Linked DNA regions of Homo sapiens: region 2 is linked to region 1. Evidence: promoter capture Hi-C in 16 types of primary human blood cells and fetal thymus (Javierre and others, 2016). All regions are on one chromosome and are shown on one strand. Each heading gives the region's core, a stretch centred on a gene start or on the middle of the fragment in contact. The rest is flanking DNA. Distances are from core to core; before and after follow the strand shown. Region 1 holds the start of OR8K5 (olfactory receptor family 8 subfamily K member 5). Region 2 holds the start of OR8H3 (olfactory receptor family 8 subfamily H member 3).

What was found. The method cuts DNA at HindIII sites, captures the fragments that hold promoters and counts their contacts. A CHiCAGO score of 5 or more calls a contact.
Region 2: a contact is called between the fragment with the promoter of OR8H3 here and the fragment with the promoter of OR8K5 in region 1, in 12 of 17 cell types (neutrophils, total B cells, monocytes and 9 more). The highest score is 14.5, in neutrophils.

The regions. Positions count from the first base shown.
Region 1 is chr11:56,156,259-56,163,243 of GRCh38, reverse strand. OR8K5 (olfactory receptor family 8 subfamily K member 5) reads left to right here and starts at 2,927. Exons shown (of 1, transcript NM_001004058.2): 1 at 2,927-3,850. The coding sequence starts at 2,927. The coding sequence ends at 3,850. The HindIII fragment of the contact is 6,274 bases long and covers 1,965-6,985 here.
Region 2 is chr11:56,118,755-56,125,739 of GRCh38, reverse strand. It overlaps OR8H3 (olfactory receptor family 8 subfamily H member 3), which reads right to left and starts at 3,367. Exons shown (of 1, transcript NM_001005201.1): 1 at 2,429-3,367. The coding sequence starts at 3,367. The coding sequence ends at 2,429. The HindIII fragment of the contact is 10,899 bases long and covers 2,661-6,985 here.

The sequences.
Region 1 (6,985 bases), core at 1,678-4,177:
CCATTCTCCTGCCTCAGCCTCCCGCGTAGCTGGGACTACAGGCGCCCAACACCACGCCCGGCTAATTTTTTTTGTGTTTTTAGTAGTGACGGGGTTTCACTGTGTTAGCCAGGATGCTGACCTCGTGATCCGCCTGCCTTGGCCTCCCAAAGTGCTGGGATTACAGGCGTGAGCCACTGTTCCTGGCCAATGATCTCATCTATTAGAATCTAGAAAGGTTAAGATTCCCAGATACAATGCAAGATTTCCATCTCCATTTTTCATATAATCAGGAAGTACTATGAACACATGTAATAAAATATTTCAAAAATAGTGTTTTAAAATATGTATTTTCTTTTTTTCTTGCTTTTTTTAATTATACTTTAAGTTCTAGGGTACCTGTGCAGAATGTGCAGGTTTGTTACATAGGTATACATGTGCCATGGTGGTTTGCTGCACCCATCAACCCGTCACCTACATTAGGTTTTTCTCCTGATGTTATCCCTCCCCTAGCCCCCACCCGCTGAGAGGCCCCGGTGTTCCCCTCCCTGTGTTCCCCTTCCTGTGTCCCCTCCCTGTGTCCATGTTTTTCTATACAACATTTTACAAGCTTCAAATAATTTCTAGATAGTGATATTACATATATAAACTTGCATATTTTTGGTTTATTTTTACTGAGTTACTACTATTGTTTTCCTTTAAACAATAGGCATTACAAACTGATTAAGTAGACTGTAAAATAAATAGAAATAATTTTTAAAGTTATAGAGTTACCAATAAATCCCTGAACTATCATTAATTCCTAAAAGATTTCATGAAGGCTAAAGACTGAAAAATAATTCCTTTGCATACTTTTTTATCCTGTCTTTTCTATTGGTTATCCCTAAACAAGGGTATTTAAAATGTATGCATAATTATTCAAATACGTTAGAAATATACTTTTTTCCATAAGAAAAACAGGTAGGATACAAAATTGAGAAATCTTCAGAGGGAGATAATAATTGACAGTGACAATGGAAATAGACTGAATAAAAACTAAAACCATTTTAAGCAAAGTATTGACTTCAGATTGGTGGGATTGATGTTGGAATTCTGAATTTCCTTTGCAATTCAGTGCATCTTCTATTCTACCATAAAACCCTATGTGAGCAATTCCTGCAATACTGCAAATTTAAGATAAAGTTTTAGAAATAGAATAGTCATGGTTCTTATCTGTGGGAAAAGAAAGACCTAAAAGAGGGGTGAAGTTCAATGGAGAAACAGCAGACAGCTTCATTTAGGGAGAAGGAATGGAAGAGGGTCACTAACCTCCACTGTTGCCCCCTTCCCACATCTGTAGTCCATAGATGAAGTTGGCAAAATGTCTCCCACTAATGAGCAGATACCTAGAAGTGTTGCCAAATGCCACAGTGTGGCTGTGGACTGCACCTGCTCCAAACTGTAGTTTTGGATCTTTAGGTGGGTTTTCAGAGTTTTCTACCTGAGGGATGTGCAGGCTAAAGCTGACATTCCATTACATTATAATAAATCTATTCTACATTAGATCTGTGGAAAATTCCGTTACTATTCCAATTGAAAGTCACTCTCACAGAGTTCCAGATTTTCAATGAGTGGAAACTGAAGGAGAGGGGAATTTAAGTGGAATAGGCTAAGACATCTTCACTATCTGTATCAGGGACGTTCCACTTTCTTTTATTGACTTCCCGTGTATTTTTTAAATAAAGGGAGAAGTACTTTTCATTGAAATAGTTTTAATTACAGTATTATATCTCCATGAATACTCCACTGTACAATTCCAGAAAAAAAGTCATTCACTAATATATGATGTCCTAAATTCTCAAATTATTTAAATGATTTATAGAACCTACCATCTTCACAGTGTTTTATTACAGAAAATAAAGTACATATAATTAAATAGTCATCACTGAATATTGATTTAAATCATGTTTTTGCAGAAGTGGATCCAGATTATGTGTCTTGAAGCTTAGAAGAATTTGACTTTTTAGATAAAATTACACATACAAGTTGAAAGATAAATGGGAATATTTATTTAGAATAGAAAATTAGCTTTAAATTGTAATTAGTAAACAAACCCATGGCCACAAACTATATAAAATTTATTAATATAGTATGTTAATTAATCAAATGCCAAATGCATCTCAGCATACAGGTGGCAAGAGTATCCTTAGAAGACATTCTTAAGTCAGAATAGGTAGTATTATTCAGTGATAAATATCATAGTGTCTGAATGATATAAACATATCCATTGAACATCAAATAAACTATTATTAACTCAATCCTTCTTTAGCTAGATCCCACAATGCTTGCAGAAATGTCAAGTCACTATGATATTAGTTGAAGTGTGATATACTAGAAGTTGGAATGAAAACAGAAAGCAGCCTTAATTGATCATGATTATTATATCTTACATTTGAAATTTTACAAAGATATATCATTTTTGCGTGCATTCGTAAGTCCCCACACAAGACCCTGGAAGTGCAAATGAGGGACCCCAAATCTTAACCTTCATTATCTTATTGCCATCTCTACCTCTGTCTTTGAGAATATCAAAATTACAGAAAAGTTTTACAACAAAAGTGGAAGTGAACAAAAGAAAATCATGATACCATTGTGCAGATGAAAAGAGCATAATCTTTTTGTAATAATACCTATATGGCTGTGTTATTAACCGATATACTTCAAATATTGATGAAACTATTTAATCTATGTTGTTTCAGTGCATGTATTTTACATGAATTCCTCTTTTAGGAAAGTAGAAAATTTTGCTTTATATTTCATTTCTGAATCAAATGTAGAAATAATGTTTCTATTATCTATTGTGAATAACAATCTATTCTGTCTACAAATATTATAATTTGTTTAAATAGCACTACATGGAACAGCTAATAACCCAACTGTTTCTTCCTAGAAGAGATAACTGGACTAAATGGGCCAACACAATCTAACAGTGCTAACTGAATTCATTCTGATGGAACTCACAAGGCGGCCTGAGCTGCAGATTCCCCTTTTTGGAGTCTTCCTCGTCATCTACCTAATCACAGTGGTGGGCAACCTAACTATGATCATTTTGACCAAACTGGACTCCCACTTACATACACCTATGTACTTTTCTATCAGACATTTGGCTTTTGTTGATCTTGGTAATTCTACTGTCATTTGTCCCAAGGTGCTGGCAAATTTTGTTGTGGATCGAAATACTATTTCCTATTATGCATGTGCTGCACAGCTGGCATTCTTCCTTATGTTCATTATCAGTGAATTTTTCATCCTGTCAGCCATGGCCTATGACCGCTATGTGGCCATTTGTAACCCTCTGCTCTATTATGTTATTATGTCTCAGCGACTGTGTCATGTACTGGTGGGCATTCAATATCTCTACAGCACATTTCAGGCTCTGATGTTCACTATTAAGATTTTTACATTGACCTTCTGTGGCTCTAATGTCATCAGTCATTTTTACTGTGATGATGTTCCTTTGCTACCTATGCTTTGCTCAAATGCACAGGAAATAGAATTGTTGAGCATACTATTTTCTGTATTTAATTTGATCTCCTCCTTTCTGATAGTCTTAGTGTCCTACATGTTGATTTTGTTAGCTATATGTCAAATGCATTCTGCAGAGGGCAGGAAAAAGGCTTTCTCCACATGTGGTTCCCATTTGACAGTGGTGGTTGTGTTCTATGGGTCTCTACTCTTCATGTACATGCAGCCCAATTCCACTCACTTCTTTGATACTGATAAAATGGCTTCTGTGTTTTACACTTTAGTAATCCCCATGCTTAACCCTTTGATTTACAGCTTAAGAAACGAAGAGGTGAAAAATGCCTTCTATAAGCTCTTTGAGAATTGATGTCAACTTTGTGTTTAATAATCAATTTGTAATATTGTTATAATAAATATATAATATAGATTAATGTCACTTGATAATTTTTCATGTGTATATAAATTTTCCAATTTTCAAATTTTTTTAATTGTTTTTTATTTCAATAATTTTTGGGAAGTAGGAGGTTTCTGGTTATGTGAATAAGTTCATTGGGGTAATTTCTGAGGTTTTGGTGCACTCATCACCTGAGCAGTGTACACTGTACTCAATGTGTAGCCTTTTATCCCTCGCCCACACTGCACACTTTTCCCTGTGTCCCCAAAATACATTATGTCATTCTTACCTATTTGTATCCTCATAGTTTAGCTCCCACTTATAAGTGAGAACATATGATATTTGGTTTTCCATTCCTGAGTTACTTCACTTAGAATAAAGGTCTCCAGCTCCATCCAGGTTGCTGTGAATGCCATTATTTTGTTCCTTTTTATAAGTGAGTAGTATTCCATCATATATATATATACATATATATATATATACACACACACACACATATATATAGATAAAGAAAACGTGATATCTATATATATCATTTGATATATATATGGTATATATAAAGAAAATGTGATATGTATATCATATTCTGGTTATATGAGTCCACTTTTTGTCATATATATATCACATTTTCTTTATATATATCAGATTTTCAATGAGTAATCAGATTTTCGGATTTCATGAGATATATATGTGTGTGTGTGTGTGTGTGTATATATATATATATAGATCTCACATTTTCTTTATCCACTAGTTGGTTGATGGACATTTAGGCTGGTTACATACTACTGCAATTGCTAATTTCCCTGCTCTAAACATGGATGTGCAAGTGTCTTTTTCACATAATGACTTCTTTTCCACTGGGTAGATACCCAGGAGTGGGATTGCTGGATCAAGTGAAAGTTCTACTTTTACTTATTTAAAAAATCTCCATACTGTTTTCCAAAGTGGTTGTACCAGTTTACACTCCTACCAGCAGTGTGAAAGTGTTCCCTTTTCACCACATTCATGCCAACACTTTTTTTTTATTTTTAAATTATGGTCATTCTTGCAGGAGTAAGGTAATCTCATTGTGGTTTGATTTGCATTTTCCAGATACTTAGTGATGTTGAGCATTTTTAAATATTTTTTTGGTCATAAGTATATCTTCTTTTGGAGTTGTCTATTCATGACCTTTGTCCACTTTTTGATGGGATTATTTGTTCACTTCTTGCTGATTTGCTTGATTTACTTGTAGATTCTGGATATTAGTCCATTGTTGAATGTTGTAGTCCGAAAGAGTGAGGGTTGTGATCAACTCAGTATACCACTGGAGGCTATATGAGTAAACAGCAAACTATTCTCGTAAATGCAGAATGTTGGCAAAATGACAAACTATGTCTGATGCCCAGAAGGAATGCTGAGGGTAGTCATGCCCTAGGCACAGTGTTTCTTGTGATTAGGCACATCGGAAGCCTGTTAGCAATAATGTGAACCTGTGATCAATTAAGCAGCTGACCAATCGTTACCTCCTCCTCCTTGCTGTTTCTACCCAATAAATACGAAGGGCTGTAGAATCTCAGGGCTACCTTTGCAGACTAGAAGCAAGGAGCCCTCTTCTTCTTCCCCGGACCCTCTCTTTAAAATAGTTTCTCATGTTCTAAGTTTTCATTTCTGTGTTCGTCCTTCATTCAGTCCCATGGTAACCGTAGTAAGAGTGGCAAACCATGACAGTTAAATGCATAGTTTGCAAATATTTTTTTCCATTCTTTGGGTTGTCTGCTTACTCTACTGATTATTTACCTTGCTATGCAGAAGCTATTTAGTTTAATTAGGTCCCATTTATTTATTTTTGTTTTTGTTGCTTTTGCTTTTGGGTTATTTTTCATGAACTTTTTTCCTAAACCAATGTCTATAAGAGTTCTTCCAATGTTATCTTCTAGGAAACTTATGGTTTCATGTTTAGATTTAAGTCTTTGATCCATCTTGAGTTGATTTGTGCATAAGGTGAGAGATAAGGATCCAATTTTATTCTTCTACATGTAGCTTGCCAATTATCCCAGCAGCATTTGTAATAGGTTGCCCTTTCCCTACTTTATGTTTATGTTTGCTTTGTCAAAGATCAGTTGGCTGTCTTTGGCTTTATTTCTGGGTTCTCTATTCTGTTCCATTGTTCTATGTGCCCATTTTTATACTAATACCATACTGCTTTGGTAACCATAGCCTTATAGCATAAAGTCTGGTAATATGATGCCTCCAGATTTGTTATTTTTGCATAGTCTTGCTTCAGCTATGCAGGCTCTTTTTTTGTTCCATATGAATTTTAAGATTGTTTTTTCTAGTTCTGTGAAGAATGATGATGGCAGTTTAATGAGAATTGCATGGAAACTGTAGATTGCTTTTGGCAGTATGGTCATTTTTACAATATTGATTCTACCCATCCATGAGCATGGGATGTTTTCATTTGTTGGTGTTGTCATTGACTTCTTTCAGCAGTGTTTTGTAGTTTTGCTTGTAGAGCTCTTTCACCTCCTTGGATATGTATATTCCTAAGTATTTTATTTTATTTTTTGCAAATATTATAAAAGAAATTGAGTTCTTATTTGTTTCTCAGCTTGGTCATTGTTGGTGTACAGCAGTGCTACTGATTTGTGTACATTGATGTGTGTATCCTGAAACTTTACTAAATTCACTTATGAGATCTAGGAACTTTTTGAATGAGTCTTCAGGGTTTTCTAGGTACATAATCATATCATCAGTGAGTGATGTTTTCTTTGGCTGGGGTTGGGTTTCGTTTGTTCTTTTTTCTCTATTCTCTAAAATGTGACCTTGGATTGTCTATTTGTGCTCTTTCAGACTTTTTGGTGCAGGTATTTGATGCTATGAACTTTCCTCTTAGCACCATTTTTGCTGTATCTCAGAGGTTTTGATAAGTTGTGTCACTATTATCATTCAGCTCAAATAATTTTTAAATTTTAACCTTGATTTCATTGTTGACCCACAGATCATTCTAGAACAGATTATTTAATTTCCATATATTTGTATAGTTTTAAGGTTTCTTTTTGAAGTTAATTTTATTCCAATATGTTCTCAGAGGATACTTGATATAAATTTGATTTTCTTAAATTTATT
Region 2 (6,985 bases), core at 2,118-4,617, 38 kb after region 1:
ATATTTATATCATAGGGCATTTTGGCATGACACTATGAACCAGACAACTATGTCTTCAATTAGACAATATCTTACATAAAATATACTTTACACCAATATAATAAGGAAAGTATAGGCCAAATGTGAACAGTCTAAATCTTTCATGTTGTGCATAGATTATTGTATACTTTTTAATAACATTATGTGAATATGTTTTAGCCTATGTTATGAAGATGATAGGGTGGTCCTCATTAAATTAGAATGTAAACAATTTCCCACCATGTGTTGACCACAAAGTGATAGATTCTGTTGGCCATCTTTGCAACCCAAATTGACAGGATCCATTTTCTAAATCATAGAAGTAGACATAAATGAAAGCAAGATAAAACCATAGTTTATAGAAATAAATAGAAAAATGGAAAGAACCTGTAAATACATGAACTTATATTATGCATTTATTAGATAAGAATGAGCCAAAAACATATTATTAAATAATAAATGTCGATTAAATACTTATTTCTAATTGCAAATGAAAACAAATACAGGGACCTATAAATATATATTCCTGAAAAAATGGATATCAAAGCAAAAATTAAATTATAATAATTTTACATGGCATTAATACTTGATAAACAAAATTGTGAAATAAATTAAGAGGAAACAATATGTATTTAAAAGATTTGAATAAATTAGCTGACAGTTTGAATAAGTGAAATTTTATTAAAATGTTAACTCCTAAAATAGAGGATACAGTCTATTTTAAACATTCAAAATGCACTTAGAAAAAATCAAATATAATTGTACAAACAAAAATTTCAATATATAAACGAAAACAGTCTATCTAGTAACTGTTACAAAAGTTTAAACAAAAAAGACAAATACTTGGAAAATAAAAACTAGCTTCTAAAATATCCTTTAAATAGCAGATAAAAACAAAACTGTGTTTCCAGAATATGTAAGGAAAACATTTAAAAATAAAAGACATTTAAGCACACTACCTGACTAAAATTGATGGGATGTCACAACAACTGAATTCATTGTCAATTCTTTGCTTTACATCTTTTCTGTATTAAGAAATGTAAAATCAATGAATAAAGCATTTAATTCAAGGAGTTATTTTAAAACTGAAACAAACCTGTAGAAAACAGGAGAAAGGCAATGATTTTTAAAAACACACAGGATTTTAATAAAGAAGCAATTTGACACATTACGGAAATCCACTTTTCACCTGTTTAGCATGCAAAGGACATATCACTGCATGTAGATTTTTAACGTGATGAATTTATATTTCAAGTCCAAAACATTGTGAAATGAGACTTGATTGTGCCCATGTATCAAGAAAAACTTTATGTTAGATTTGTCGATGACAAAGAGATTATCTAATGTTAAACTTGTAAATGAATACAGAAAGCTGAAAATCAGTATGTAGAAAGTGATAGAAATTTTTGTTTATATGCGTTATATATGTGCACGTATTTGAAACTATTGATCTAGAAGAACATGCACAAAACTCAATATTTGTTTTTCTAAAACTGAAAACGAGTTTATTAGAGAAGTAAATAAACAAAAGAATGGCTACTCCACAGGAAGAGCAGCCAAAACTCAATATTTGTAGAGGATTTCTATTTTCTTCAATATTTTATAATATTTTCAAATTTTCTCTAACATTATATTAATATAGGCTATTTTTTCTATAACATAATTCTACTGAAATATTTTACTTCTGAAATCCAAAATTGTGAGCTGCTGATTTTTGTTCTTTTTAGTTCTGTCAATTAAATTAACCAAAAGTAATTTGTGAAACACGAGTTTACATTCTTGAAAAAACGCACTGTGCAGTAATGTAGGTCTTCTAATGATAATGGGAAGCATTAATTATTATCGCTTTAAATACTCTACAACTACCCTCTGATCAGATTTGGAGTTATTTATCTTGCGCACTTAGGGAAAGGAGGCTTAAGCTTTAGGTAACATATTAATGGCTACACAGCTAAAAGTGTAGCATATTTAGAATCTAACTCTTGGAAAATTTTATTCCAAAGTAAGTACTCCTACCCACTCTGCTATGATTCTTCCCCACATAATAAATGGAATAACATCTAAAACTATTATCACCGTGTCTCAAATATTCTTTCCATAATAAATTTATCTACAGTTGAAGCATACATAAGAATTTGAATAATATAATTAAAAATGACAACCTTATTTTCTTATTTTCCACATCAGTTGCTTCAAAACATGACACACATATTATGATTCTAATTACCATTTGGATTTCTAAAAACATATGCCTTGAAATGTTTTAAATCATGTTTAGTCAAGCAAAGAGTAGCACAACAGAAATGCAAATAAATTAAAGGATTCAATTGTTTTTATAGAGAGACTAAGAAAATACCCAATAGGAATGAAAGAAAAGATGAGATTAAATGTTCCATTTCTGCTATTTTAACTACCTGGAGTCCTGTCTTCTCTGCATGACTCTAATGAGAGCATTTTTCACTTCTCTGTTTCTAAGACTATAAATGAGTGGATTCAGCATGGGAATCACAATAGTATAAAACACAGGAGCCACTTGATCTCTTCCCAAGGAATAAGACTTTCTTGGCTTTAAGTAAGTAAAAATCATAGTTCCATAGAAGATGGTGACTCCCAAGAGATGAGAGACGCAAGTAGAGAAAGCTTTCTGCTTTCCTGAAGTGGAATTAATTTTCAGGATGGTAGAGAGAATGGACACATAGGATGCAGATATTGTGATAAGGGACACCATCAGGGTGGAACCAGCGATAATGAATATCAGCATTTCAGTGTTGTCTGTGTCAGTGCAGGACAGAGCTAAAATTGGGGAAGTGTCACAGAAAAAGTGATGAATTATGTTTGAGTCACAGAAATGCAATCTGCTCATGGAAACCACATTGACAAAGGAGTCCATAAAGCCAATCACATAAGGCCCAGTGATGAGAGCGAGGCAGAGCCTTTTGGGCATAATAACTGTGTAGTGTAGAGGACTGCAGATCGCTGCATAGCGATCATAGGCCATTGAGGAGAGAAGATAACATTCAGCAGTACCCAAGAAGACAAAACAGAACATCTGGGCAAAGCAGCCCGTGAAGGAAATATAGTTGGAAGTCAGTAAGTTCGCTAAGGTTTTAGGTGTGACGACAGTTGAGTAACTGAGGTCAATAAATGACAGGTGAGTAAGGAAAAAATACATGGGAGTGTGAAGCTGGAGGTCCAGGCGGATTATCAATAGCATCCCCACATTCCCCAGCATAGTAATTAGGTATATGAGGAGAAATAGCATAAACAGAGCCATCTGGACCTCTTCAGAGTCTGACAGTCCCGTAAGGATGAAGTCAGCCACATTTGTGTCATTCCTTCTACCCATCATGTTCACCTGCTCTAAACTGCTGAGAAATCAAAGTTGATACGTAGCAGGGGCGCCTGTACTCCCAGCTACTGGAGAAGCTGAGGCAGGAGAATCGCTTGAACATGGGAGCCGGAGGTTGCAGTGAGCCAGAGGTTGCAGTGAGCTGGGATCACACTATTGCATTGCAGCCCCAGCAACTGTGCCAGACTCCGACTCAAAAAAAATAAACAAAACAATCAAAAAAAATTTCTGTTTATATGAATGACCTAGCATTTAATAATTAGTTTAACATTCTACAAATTGCTAATAAATTTATAGAATATGACTAAAGAGACTAATTTTATTGCCAATATAGATATAAGTTCAAATTAACATTTGCATATGTTATAATAAAATGTAGCATATTGCATAATTAGAATGAACCTGACATTGTTCTGAATGGCTTCCTTTATTAATATATTTAATCCACCTGAAAATATTATACCATAGATACTACTATTATCCACATAGTTTAGGTGAGGGAAAAAAAGAGTATGGAAGGTTGGAGTAACTTATCCAAAGTCAGATCAATTCAATGTTGACACTGATTCTACAAAGATATATTCCTTCAGAGAGAAGGCTTATAATACTACAATCTTGTTTATAAATAATTTCAGAAAACTTGAGAAAAGAGGTGGACATGTAATAAAAAATGAGAGGAAACAGTTTTATTATATAATTTACTGCCCTTTTGTTTCCAATATTATTTAATAATAATTTTCAATAAATTTCACCCTTGGGGTTTTTAGTCAGGTACATTAAAATTATAGACAATATATAAGTATTAATTTATAAAAGATGTGATGTTTTCCTGACATAACTAATCAAAATCTAATTTCTTCCAAAAAATTATATTTTCAAAATGTATACTTTGCTTGTAGACTCTGATTCTGGCAACTCTACATTTGTCTCACAAACCCTGACATTACTTAGGGTAGAGAGTAAATGATATGTGTATATATTAATATATACATTAATATATATTAATATATTATTCTGCGAAAGTCCCCATTTTATTTCATCTGAAGTAAAATGTGAAACAAAATCTTCCAATTTTGAGAATAATACTTACTGTGTGTAAGTCAACATTCATGAAAAAACTTTCTTCTTATATTATCTGTATGGAAATTTGTCAACTTCAAATTTTTGTTATAAATAAAATAAGAAAACTATTTAAGGAGATGAAAATTTTTATAATATTTGTTTTCCTTGAGATAAGTTGTTTTTACATTTTGGTGCATTCATTATGTTTTATTCTGAGTTATGATAAACCAATCTAGAAATTTTGTTTAGGTTCTGGTCTAATGGAAAGATTACCAAGAAGTTATGTGTCAAAGAAGACCGGCAGCCACTGTGACCATAAGGAGATTATTCTTTCCCTCTCACTCGGATAATTCCAGAGGATCTCATATACCAGAGGCTGATGACAATGCACCTTTTGGTAGGCCCTGGGGGCCATTTGCCAAGGCAGATTGTTTGGCATGTTTCCAAGCACAAAAGTTCAAGGACTAAATGTAGCCATGTTAGGCTTTGTGCAAAGATTTTCCTTTTTACCTTAGAAGCCACACAAATGAAGGAAATTATGAATTGGTCTTTTCTTGTGATGTTCTCAATATTTTACAGGCGTGGTGGAGAAGGCATTTCCAGAAAAAATAGTTACTCTGTGACTGACATCATCAAAGATGGAATAATACATTTTTCACAATTAAATTTCTTAATATTTAAAAGTGCGATACTATCGTATATGTAAACCATGTTAATTGGAAAAGAATCAGAAGATAACAAAATTCAAAAAAAGTAAATGAAAACAATTCAAAACTGTCGTTAACATTTTGTTAACATTATAATTTTTCCTAATTATTTTCCTTTGTGCCTTATTTGTACATGTACTTATAGATGGCATAACAATTATTGTACTATACAGTCAGTGTCTTTTGCTCATTTAATAACCAAAATTTTATGCTATGCCATGAGCTATCTTATATTAACCTTTTATCAACCACACAATTCTACGGTTCATGTATTGGTTAGTGCCCCGTAACTTACTAAGTTAACTATGTGTTTACGAGCTGATAAACAGACATTTTGAAGCATTATCAGAAAGTGGTGTAGGTTATTCATTCTGGTGTGGTGGTGTCACCTAATTCATCTACATGCAATATTTGTGCACTATGTTTTGCTGTTTTCATGTACTTTTTAAAATTTTATGAAACAAAAGTGAGAGCAGAAAAACAAAATCAGCCATGAGACTAATAAACATTTTATAATTAATTTAGTAGCCCAAAACATACTTCCTCCATGTATAGTCAGGTCAATTTTTTCCTTAAATATGAGTTAAAATTAAAATATAAAAAGAGAGCTGAAATATTCTACTGAGAATTATTTGTCCAAGATGAGGAAGCAAGGGAAGATTCTGAAACAATATAAAATGTGAAACAGAGTAAAATATTAAAGTGAATCTTAAGTCATTATAAAAAAATCAATTTTATGTAAATTTTAAAGTGAGTCTAGAAGGAAAGCATGCCCATAATCTAGAATTTCAGGAGATAATCTGTTGGTAGGTATAAAGCGCTACATTTGTATGTATTTATTGTACCTTTGATGAGTTTTGGGAAGAGCGATTCTATTCACCAGAAATTTAGTGCTCCTGAGACAGGTTGATTTGAATATTTAAAAGCCAGCATCACACTCTTTAACAATAGATAACATTAGGGTTTAAGCCAAATAAGAGGCAAAAGGTGACTATGTCAAAACTACCTCAATAGGCTTGGTGATCGTAAAATCTCCGAGAGCAAGGGATTTTCTTGCTTGATGTTTTTCTAACATTGAAAACCATTTTGTTCAGGTTCAGAGTTGTTTATCATGGCAGGAAAATTATTTTCCCATTTACTAAATCATTGCTGAAACCTAATTCTGACCAGAGATTTTAAATCTCTTTCAATTTAAATGATGAAATAATGTAATGTCCTAGCTAGTTATACTTTTTATGATTTATTTATTTATTTAGACACAGAGTCTCACTTTGCCCAGGCTGAAGTGCAGTTGTGCTATCTTGGCTCATTGTAACGTCCACCTCCTGGGCTCAAGAGATCCTCCTGCCTCATCCTCCCAAGTAGCTGGGACTACAGGTGAACTCGCCACCAGGCTCAGCTAATTTTTTGTAGTCTTTGTAGAGGTCTCCCTATGTTGTCCAGGCTTGTCTTGAATTCCTGGGTTCAAGGTATCTCCTGCCTAGGCCTCGCTAAGGGCTGGGATAATAGTTGTGAGCCACAGTGCCTGGCCTTTATATTTTAAACTATGTTTCTTATCCTCTTCTATTCTCTCTCTATCTCTCTCTCTCTTCTGGAATATGTTTATTATTTTTTTTAATCTTTGGCTCAGTTAAAAAAATTACTTTTCTGATATATTTTGTTCAAATACTTATTAATTTGTTTATTCGTTAGTTATTTTAGTTATTCTTATTTTAACATTTTTTTCCCCTACTTTATCAGGTTGGGTTCATTATTTTTTTCTCCACCACCTAGTAAAAGTATTTTCTTATGGTTACCTGTTTAATATTATCAGAATTTAATATTTGCATTATCCATCCTGGTGTCACTC